Regions from separate parts of the Homo sapiens genome. Here region 1 is linked to region 2. Evidence: promoter capture Hi-C in human tissues and cell types (Jung and others, 2019). All regions are on one chromosome and are shown on one strand. Each heading gives the region's core, a stretch centred on a gene start or on the middle of the fragment in contact. The rest is flanking DNA. Distances are from core to core; before and after follow the strand shown. Region 1 has its middle 19 kb from the start of ZNF174. Region 2 holds the start of TIGD7 (tigger transposable element derived 7).

Region 1 (5,310 bases), core at 768-3,267, 120 kb before region 2:
CCTGTTTGCAGATGACATGTTTCTATCTAGGAAACCCCATTGTCTCAGCCCAAAAGTTCCTTCAGCTGATAAACAACTTCAGCAAAGTTTCAGGATACAAAGTCAATGTACAAAAATTACCGGCATTCCTATGCACATACAACAGCCAAGCCGAGAGTCAAATCAGGAAGGCAATCCCATTCACAATTGCCACAAAAAGAATAAAATACCAAGCCGTGCATGGAGGCTCACACCTGTAATCCCAGCAAGATTCCATCTCAAAAAAATAAATAAGTATATAAAATACCTAGGAATACAGCTAACTAGGGAGGTGAAAGATCCCTACAATGAGAATTACAGCACACAGCTGAAATAAATCAGAGATGACACAAATGGAAAAACATCCCATGCTCATGGATTGGAAGAATAAATATCATTAAAATGGACATATTGCCCAAAGCAATTTGTAGATTCAATGCTATTCCTATCAAACTACCAATGACATTCTTCATAGAATTATAAAAAACTATTTTAAAATTCACATGGAACCAGCTGGCTGCGGTGACTCACACCTGTAATCCCAGCACTTTGGGAGGCCGAGATGGGCAGATTACGAGATCAGGAGATTGAGACCATCCTGGCTAACACGGCGAAACCCCATCTTTACTAAAAATACCAAAAAAAAAAAAATTAGCTGGGCATGGTGGCAGGTGCCTGTAGTCCCAGCTACACATGAGGCTGAGGCAGAAGAATGGCATGAACCCGAGAGGCGGAGCTTGCAGTGAGCCAAGATTGCGCCACTGCACTCCAGCCTGGGCAACAGAGCAAGACTCTGTCTCAAAAAAAAAAAAAAAAAATTCACATGGAACCAAAAAGAGCCTGAATAGCCAAGGCAATCCTAAGCAAAAAGAACAAAGTTGGAGGCATCACATTACCTGACTTCAAACTGTCCTACAGGGCTACAGTAACCAAAACAGCATGGTACTGGTACAAAAACAGGCACATAGGCCAATGGAACAGAATAGAGAGACCAGAAATAAGGCCACACTCCTAAGATCATCTGATCTTCAATAAAGCTGACAAAAACAAGCAATGGTGTGTGGGTGGAGGGAATCCCTGTTCAATAAATGGTGCTGGGATAATTGGCTAGCCATATGCAGAAGATTGAAACTGGACCCCTTCTTTACACCATATACAAAAATCAACTCAAGATGGATTAAAGACTTAAATGTAAAATCCAAAGCTATAAAAACCCTAGAAGACAACCGAGGCAATACCGTCTTGGACATAGGATCGAAAATATTTCATGACAAAGACTCCAAAAGCAATTGCAACAAAAGCAAAAATTGAGACATGGGACCTAATTGAACTAAAGAGCTTCCTCTGCACAGCAAAAGAAACTATCAACAGAGTAAACAGACAACCTCCAGAATGGAAGAAAATATTTGCAAATATGCGTCTGACAAAGGTCTAATATCCAGCATCTATAAGGAATGTAAACAAATTTGCAAGAGAAAAACAACCCCATTAAAAAGTAGGCAAAGGACATGAACAGACAATTTTCAAAAGAAGACATACATGCAACCAACAATCATAAGAAAAAAAGCTCAATATCACTAATCATTAAAGAAATGCAAATCAAAACCATAATGAGATACCATCTCACACCAGTGATAATGGCTGTTATTAAAAAGTCAAAAAATATGCTGGCAAGATTGCAGAGAAAAGGGAACACTTATACACTGTTAGTGGGAGTATAAATTTCGCCCAACCATTGTGGAGAGCAGTATGGCGATTCCTCAAAGTGCTAAAAAGAGAACTACAGTTTGACCCCACAATCCCATTACTGGGTATGTACCCAGAGAAATATAAATCATTCTCTTGTAAAGACACATGCACATGAATGTTCACAGCAGCACCATTCACAATAACAAAGACGTGGAATCAAAGGCCCATCAGTGACGACTGGATAAAGAAAACGTACATATACACCATGAAATACCGTGCAGCCATAAAAAAGAATGAGATCATGTCTTTTGCAGGAATATCGATGGAGTTGGAGGCCAGAAACTACTGGCAGGAACAGAAAATACTGCACGGAACTTTCTTTCTTTCTTTCTTTCTTTCTTTCTTTCTTTCTTTCTTTCTTTCTTTCTTTCTTTCTTTCTCTCTCTCTCTCTCTCTCTCTTTCTTTCGTCTCTCTCTCTTTCTGTGTTTCTTTCTTTCTTTTTTTTGATGGAGTCTCACTCTGTCAACCCCTGCTGCAGTGCAGTGGTAGGACCTCAGTTCACTGCAACCTCTGCCTCCCCGGTTCAAGCGATTCTCCTGCCTCAGCCTCCCGAGTAGCTGGGACTACAGGTGCATGCCAGCATGCCCGGCTAATTTTTGTATTTTTAGTAGAGACGGGGTTTTGTCATATTGTCCAGGCTGGTCTCGAACTCCTGACCTCATGATCTGCCCACCTTGGCCTCCCAAAGTGCTGGGATTACAGGCATGAGCCACCGCACCCAGCCTGCATGGAACTTTCAATACTGTTCCACTGACCAGCCATACTCCCATCGCTCTTCCTCTCCTTGGACCTCCCTTTTCCCTGAGACACAAAAATATTGACATTAGACCACTTAATAACTCTACGATGACCTCTAAGTGTTCAAGTGAAAGGAAGAGTCACACATCTCTCACTTTATTTATTTATTTTTGGAGATGGAGTCTCGCTCTGTCGCCCAGGCTGGAGTGCAGTGTCGTGATCTTGGCTCACTACATCCTCTGCCTTCCAGGTTCAAGCGATTCTCCTGCCTCAGCCTCCTGAGTAGCTAGGACTACAGGTGTGCACCACCACTCCTGGCTAATTTTTGTATTATTAGTAGAGATGGGGTTTCACCATGTTGGCCAGGTTGGTCTCCAACTCTTGACCTTGTGATCCACCCACCCCAGCCTCCCAAAGTGCTGAGATTACAGGCATGAACCACCCCTTGGCCCATCTCTCACTTTAAATCAAAAGGTAGAAATGATTAAGCTTAGTGAGAAAGGCATGTCAAAACCTGAGACAGGCCAAAAGCTAGGTTTCTTGTGCCAAATGTTTAACCAAATTGTGAATTCAAAGGAAAAGTTCTTGAAGGAAATTTAAAGTGCTACTCCAGTGAACACATGAATGATAAAAAAGTGAAACAGTCTTTTTGCTGATATGGGGCAAGTTTGAGTGGTGTGGATAGAAGATCAAACCAGCCACAACATTCCCTTAAACTAAAGCCTAATCCAGAGCAAGGCCCAAACTCTCTTCAGTTCTGTGAAGGCTGAGAGAGGTGAAGAAGGTGCAGAAGAAATGTTGGGAAGTAACAAAAGTTGGTTCATGAGGTTTAAGGAGAAAAGCCATCTCCATAATATAAAAGTGCAAGGTGAAGCTTCAAGTGCTGATGGAGAAACTGCAGCATGTTATCCAGAAGATCTAGCTAAGATCATTGATGAAAGTGGCTACAATAAGAACAGATTTTCAATGTAGACAAAACAGCCTGCTATTGGGGAAAGATGCCATCTAAGACTTTTGTAGCTAGAGAGGAGAAGTCAATGCCTGGCTTCAAAGCCTTAAAGGGCAGGCTGACTCTTTTGTTGGGGTGAATGCCGTTGGTGAAGCCAGTTCTCATTTACCATTCTGAAAAATCCTGAAGCCCTTAAGAATTATGTTTATTCTGCCTGTGCTCTATCAGTTGAACAACAAAGACTGGATGACAACCTATGTGTTTACAGCATGGTTTGCTGAATATTTTAAGCCCATTGTTGAGACCTACTGCTCAGAAAAAAAAATATTCCTTTCCAAATATTACAGTTTATTACAATGCACCTGGACAACCAAGAGCTCTGATGGAGATATACAAGGAAGTTAATGTTTTCATGCCTGCTAACACAACATTTATTCTGCAGCCCATGGATCAAAGAGTAATTTCATTCTTCTCTTTATTTCATTTTATTTTTTTGAGATGGGCTCTCACTCCCCCAGACTAGACTGCAGTGGTACAATCATAATTCATTGCAGCCTAGCTCCTGGGCTCAAGTAATCCTCCTGCCTTGGCCTCCCAAGCAGCTGAGACTACAGCATGTGCCACCACACTTGTCCAATTTTTTAAATTTTTCTGTAGGCTGGGTGTGGTGGCTCACGCCTGTAATACCAACACTTTGGGAGGCCAAGGCAGGCAGATCACAAGGTAAGGAGATCAAGACCATCCTGGCTAACACGGTAAAACCCTGTCTTTACTAAAAATACAAAAAATTTGCCGGGCGTGGTGGCATGTGCCTGTAGTCCCAGCTACTCAGGAGGCCGAGGCAGGAGAATTGCTTGAGCCTGGGAGGTGGAGGTTGCCGTGAGCCAAGGTTGCACCACTGAACTCCAGCCTGGTGACACAGCAAGACTCTGTCTCAAAAAAAAATGTTTTTCTCTGTAGCGATGGGGACTTGATATGTTGCCCAGGCTGGTCTTGAACTCCTGGGCTCAAGTGATCCTCCCACCTCAGCCTCCCAAAGTGCTGGGATTACAGGCATGAGACACTGCTCCCAACCATAAGTGTTTGGTTTTGTTTTGTTTTTGCTTTTGTTTTTGTTTTTTTTGAGACAGTCTCACTGTGTTTCCCAGGCTGGAGTGCAGTGGCGTGATCTCAGCTCACTGCAACCTCCAACTCCTGGATTCAAGCGATTCTCCTGCCTCAGCCTCCTGAGTAGCTGGGAGTACAGGAGCACGCCACCACACCCAGCTAATTTTTCTATTTTTGTGGAGATGGGTTTTGCCATGTTGGCCAGGCTTGTCTGGAACTCCTGACCTCAAGTGATCTGGGTGCCTCAGCCTCCCAAATTGCTAGGATTACAGGTATGAGCCATGACACCCAACCATTTTGTTTTTTGAGACAGGGTCTTGCTCTGTCACTCTGGCTGAAGTACAAATGGCACAATCACAACTCACTGCAGCCTCAACCTCCTAGGCTCAAGTGATCCTCCCACCTCAGGCTCCCAAGTAGCTGGGACTACAGGCATGCACCACCATGCCCAGCTAATTTTTTAATTGTTTTGTAGAGTTGGGGTCTTCCCTGTGTTAACTCCTGGGCTCAGAGAGCAGTCCTCCCACCTTGGTCTCCCAGATTGCTGGGATTACAGACATGAGCCACTTGCACAGCCCAAAAGTGTTTTTTTGAGATGGAATCTACTCTTGGTAAAGATGCTGTGAATGTTGTTGAAATGACAATAGGATTTAGAATATTACATAAACTTAGTTAATGAAGGAGCAGCAGGATTTGAGAAGATTTTGAAAGTTCTACTGTGGACAAAATGCTATCACCCTGTATCACA
Region 2 (5,273 bases), core at 833-3,332:
CACCTTAAAAAACAACATTTTAGATTTTCCATTGTAGGAATACTGGCAAAAGAGCTGAGACGGTGAGATCAAAATACAGTAGTATCCCTTCTCCAAGGGGGGTAAGTTCCAGTACATTCTGTGAATACCTAAAACCCCCAACAGCATCTAACTGCATTATACTATTTTCTCTATGTATACATAGCTATGATACCTTAATTTATAAATTAGGTACAATAAGAGATTAACAATAAAACACTGTAGTAAGAGTTATTTAAAACTGGCGGTGCGCCGTGGCTCATGCCTGTAATCCCAGCACTTTGGGAGGCCTGACGTGGGTGGATCACCTGAGACCAGGACTTCAAGACCAGCCTGGCCAACATGGTGAAACCTTCTTTATTGTAAACACAAAAATTAGCCAGGTGTGGTAGTGCGCGCCTGTAGTCCCAGCTACCCAGGAGGCTGAGGCAGGAAAATTGTTTGAACCCGGGAGGTGAAGGCTGCAGTGAGCTCAGACTGTGCCACGGCACTCCAGCCAGGGCAGCAAAACGAGATTCCATCTCCAAAAAAAAAAAAAAAAGTTATTTAAAACTTATGAACTGTTTATTTCTGGAGTTTTCCATTTAATATTTTTTGGATGGCAGTTGACAGCGGGTAAGTGAAACCCAGATACAGTGGGGGGAGGGGGTACTACAGAAAGTAAAAAAGTAGCCTATTTTCAGACAATGTCTCCCAAGTAAGCAACAAGATGCTCATCATTCTTTGCAACACACATAAAGGGTGCCATGCAGATGATTTATACGAATTTTGTTTTTTTTTTTGAGATGGAGTCTCGCCCTGTCACCCAGGCTGGAGTGCAGTGGCGTGATCTCAGCTCACTGCAACTTCCACCTCCCCGGTTGAAGCCATTCTCCTGCCTCAGCCTCCCGACTAGCTGGGATTACAGGCGCGTGCCACCATGCCCGGCTAATTTTTGTGTTTTTAGTAGAGACAGGGTTTCACCATCTTGGCCAGGGTGGTCTCGATCTCCTGACCTCGTGATCCACCCATCTTGGCCTCCCAAAGTGCTGGGATTACAGGCGTCAAACACCGCGCCAGGCCTATATGAATTTTTAACTGTGCTTACTTGATCTGGAGAAAATTACAGCTGACCTCTGTTTACAAAATATCAACTTGTAAAAAAGGATATTTTATTTACAAAATATCAAGTCGTATTTTCTTTCTGTCGCTGATGTTTATGAAATATCAACTCCAACAGGAGTTGGTGACGATGAAAGTGAAACTTTCTGCTGACTTTGTATTTCTCCAAAGGTCATTTAGACTTCTAAGGGGGGCTGAGGAGAGCCGTGAGCCTCACTTTTCCTGAAGTGAGCCAGCAGAAACGGCACCGAAATTCTGCCCAGGATGCCACCGGTATTCAAAGAAGTGGCCAGCTCCTTGCTGCCCACCCCGGTTCCAGAAGCAAAGAGACACTTCCTATGTTTTTGCATCAGTAGAAGCTGCTAGCCCTGAGGCTCAACCGACCGCATGACATCGGCCGGACACGGAAATGCCGGCGGAGGCGGGAAAGAGTCTGCGGGCGCAGCTGCAGGCACTGCTGCCCGCCAGCACTCGGATTCGCCACAGCCTGTGTCTGCGACAGGCGTGCCCGTGGGCACTGGGCAAGCGGGCAGTGTCCCAGCGAGCTTCAGCCGCGCCTCTGGGATACAGCTGCGAAAAGCGGGGAGAGAATGGTTTCTCGTGCCCGACGGTGGCCCCGCCTCAGGCTCCAGCCGCGCGGCCCGGAAGCGCCGCGGCCACCGCCTACGGAAAATGGCTGCCTCCCTGCGGCCGCCGCCGCTCCAGCGGCTCCAGGGTCGAAGCCATAGGGGAAGCCGCTTCTCGGTTACCTCGGCCAGCTTGGCTTCCGTGGAGGCCGCTCCTCGCTTTCTGAGGCTCAAACGCAAGCCACCGCCCGAAAGGCCGCCGATCTGAGGAGCGCAACCGCCAGCCCACCGCTGGCCTACCGCAGCCCTGTCCAGGTACAGAGCCAGAGCGCCGGCCGGAAGTGGAAGTGACGCTTTCCGAGGGTGGCGCAGGCCCGCCCTCTGGCTAAGGCGCCTGAGCCCGGCCTACTTCCTCGCCAGAGAAACTGCTGTCTTCCCCGGCGGTAGGGAAGGGTTAATGCCACCGAGTATCCAGACCCGCTGAAGCCTAGAGGGCCTTGTACCGGCTCACCGCGTGGCTGTCGCTGTCTCGTGTCCCCAGTGGGGGAGGCGTCGCACTGCCGCGTCTGTTCTGCGTGGCTGTCGGGCGGCGTTTGGTCCCGGGAGCCTCGCCGGGTAAGGGTCGCCTCCCAGCTGCGCGCGCCGCGTTCTCGGGCTTCCCGCGGCCCGGCCGGCCGTGCTCGAGCTGTTGCTGGGCTCGTCGCCGCCTCCTCGAGGAAGAGGCATTTTGTCCGGGTCGGGCCACTCGCTAGGTCAGAAACAGCGGCCCCCCGAGGGTTTTGTACCGTTTTCTAGGTCTCGTGACGCATTCCCCACAACTATTTTTTCTTGAGGTAGGTTTGAACCTGTGAAATAGGTTCTTTTTCTATCTCTCCTTGACAGAGAAACGGAGACCTAAGAAGTGACTTGCTCAGGGTCACATAGCTCAGCAGTGGCGGCCGCTAATCGGAAATAGCTCTCCTGTTGTGGTATCCTCTGCGTTTTCCACTCCAGTATTCTTCCCTGGAAAATGGGAACCTTGTTTTCATCTTATATCTCATGCAGCGCCTAACATAGTCACCTGGTAAGATAGGCATTCCACACATATTTACTGAATCATAGTTATAAGAATCTGAGTGTTTTGGGTGTTCAGTGATCTCTGAATTAATCCGTTTTTGTAATGTCAGTCTGTACCAGTTGAGGGATTATTTAATAAGTCCAGTATGAGTGGTTTCGGAATTACCAGTTTTTGTAACGTCAGCTTATACCAGTCAAGGGACTATTTATTAAGTCAGCTATGTGTAGCCAATATTGCAGAGTTGAGTAAGAAGTCTTTGTCCTTAAGCAATCTCTTGAAAGGACTGAGCAATTTCGTGAATATCAGTAACACAAGGGTAAGAATAGGACATAAACTGAATGCTGTGAGAACTCCAAGAAAATCCAAGTTGATTTGGGGTTGGGGGAAATTATAAAAGACCTTGAGGGATTTTGTCCACAGCAGGGAATGGAGACACTTTCCAGGCAGAGGGAAGGGTAGGAGTAAAGGCTTTAAAAGCTGGAAACATTAGACTGTGAGATCTTAGGTACGTTTTTACTGAGTTGGGCTGCATTTAGAGGAAGAGTTTTAAAAGTTAGAAAACGAGTTTATGTGGCACTTATACTGGAGTCCTTTGAATGGGAATGAAAAGAGTGCATTTAAGAAAGTAAATCCTGGCCGGGCGCGGTGGCTTACGCCTGTAATCCCAGCACTTTGGGAGGCCGAGGCGGGCGGATCATGAGGTCAGGAGATCGAGACCATCCTGGCTAACATGGTGAAACCCCGTCTCTACTAAAAAATACAAAAAAAAATTAGCCGGGCGTGGTGGTGGGCGCCTGTAGTCCCAGCTACTCGGGAGGCTGAGGCAGGAGAATGGCGTGAACCCGGGAGGCGGAGCTTGCAGTGAGCCGAGTTCACGCCACTGCATTCCAGCCTGGGCGACAGAGCGAGACTCCGTCGCAAAAAACAAAACAAAACAATACAAAAAAGTAAATCCTGGAGCACCATTTGAGCGTTTTGGACTGAGCTGCTTTCTATGGCAGTTCATCTAAGGTAAGTTTAAGGTGAGAATGAAGATGAGAGGCCATTACCAGGCCATTATGCTATTTTTGCTTTTGGATGGGATGGTATGTAACTCCTCTTAGGCATAGATCTTGATCCTTTTTAAGTGAGAGAGAAAGATAAACAGATTTAATAATGAGCATCTGCCTAAGTCACTTGAATTTGTGTCTAAGTAGGTTCATTTCCTTAAAATCTCAGCCAGGTTGGGACTTCATTTCTTCAGCAGTAAATATTCTCAGTCTATCAGAACCAGTGGACAGTAGCGCCATCAGCATTAAGATTCTCATCACCTGGCCCAATGCTGAATATATAATTAGAATTTATTAAGTTGAATAAGTGAAGTTCTGCTAGCAGTGCTAAGCAGTGCCCTTGGATATCATTGACAGGCCTGATTCATAACACAGGAAGTTGGTTAAAGGGAAAAGGGATTCATGGGAAAAAGAGGCAGCAAGGCACAAATTGTGAATAGTGAATAAGAGGCACTGGTGATTTTCATTGTGTGAGGTTTGCTGCCATAGTGGCTTATCCTTTGAAGCCCACAAACATTCCTTGAGCCTTTCCTTTTGGTTTCACCTCCCCTTGCTTGGGCACTGTTTTAGAAATGATGACTGTGGCTGGGCGCAGTGGCTTACACCTGTAATCCCAGCACTTTGGGAGGCCTAGGTGGGTGGATCACTTGAGGTCAGGAGTTCGAGACCAGCCTGGCCAACATGGCAAAACCTTGTCTGTACTAAAAATATAAAAATTAGCGGGGCATGGTGGTGCGTGCCTGTAATCCCAGCTACTTAGGAGGCTGAGGCACGAGAATGGCCTGAACCCTGGAGGCAGAGGTTGCAGTGAGCCGAGATTGTGTCACTGCACTCCAGCCTGGGCGACAGAACCAGACCCCATCTCAAAAAAAAAAAAAAAAAAAAAAGACGACGGCACAGCTGAGAAGCATTGAAAGCAAATACATTAATTCTGAGACACCTACACAACTGTCATAGTGGCCTGAATATTTTTGCTAGGTGACTAGCTTGAGTTAATGGTGCTGCTATTGGCTAGCAAATACTTTTTTATTTTTCTATTTATAAGTGAAAGAGATAAACCAAGATTTATGTCTGAGTTATCACTTACTAACTGCCTTAATTATAGTTGCCTCATTTAGAAAGTTGCTTGATCGTAGCCTGCCATTGGCTCCACCCCCTAATTACTACCATATTCTCTTGTAATCTTCTCCATGCTCTATAACTCATAGTTGGCATTTCTTGCAATGAATGTTACAGGAAAACCAGTGGTCTGACTCTTCTGGGTTTTTAGATGAGAGACCTAAGAGAATTCTATGGGCCAGGTGTGGTGGCTCACGCCTGTAATCCCAGCACTTTGGGAGGCTGAGGCGGGCGGATCATGAGTTCAGAAGTTCGAGACCAGCCTGGCCAACATAGTGAAATCCTCTTTACCAAAAAAATACAAAAATTAGCCGGGTGTGGTGGCACACACCTGTAGTCCCAGCTACTCAGGAAGCTGAGGCA

The links. Contacts are between HindIII fragments. The study calls those that stand out against the background at their distance.
Region 1: a fragment that was not itself captured here is called in contact with the fragment with the promoter of TIGD7 in region 2 in 3 of the 25 tissues and cell types used here (adrenal gland, spleen and stomach).

What each region holds. Positions count from the first base shown.
Region 1 is chr16:3,417,435-3,422,744 of GRCh38, reverse strand. No RefSeq gene overlaps it. Among named protein-coding and RNA genes, the nearest start is that of ZNF174, 19 kb to the right of the region's middle. RefSeq lists a silencer at 2,160-2,442. The HindIII fragment of the contact is 7,760 bases long and covers 1-5,310 here.
Region 2 is chr16:3,302,239-3,307,511 of GRCh38, reverse strand. TIGD7 (tigger transposable element derived 7) reads left to right here and starts at 2,082. Exons shown (of 2, transcript NM_033208.4): 1 at 2,082-2,300. ZNF75A (zinc finger protein 75A) reads right to left here and starts at 2,015. Exons shown (of 7, transcript NM_001302109.2): 1 at 1,869-2,015. RefSeq lists an enhancer at 1,992-2,521. The HindIII fragment of the contact is 22,904 bases long and covers 1-5,273 here.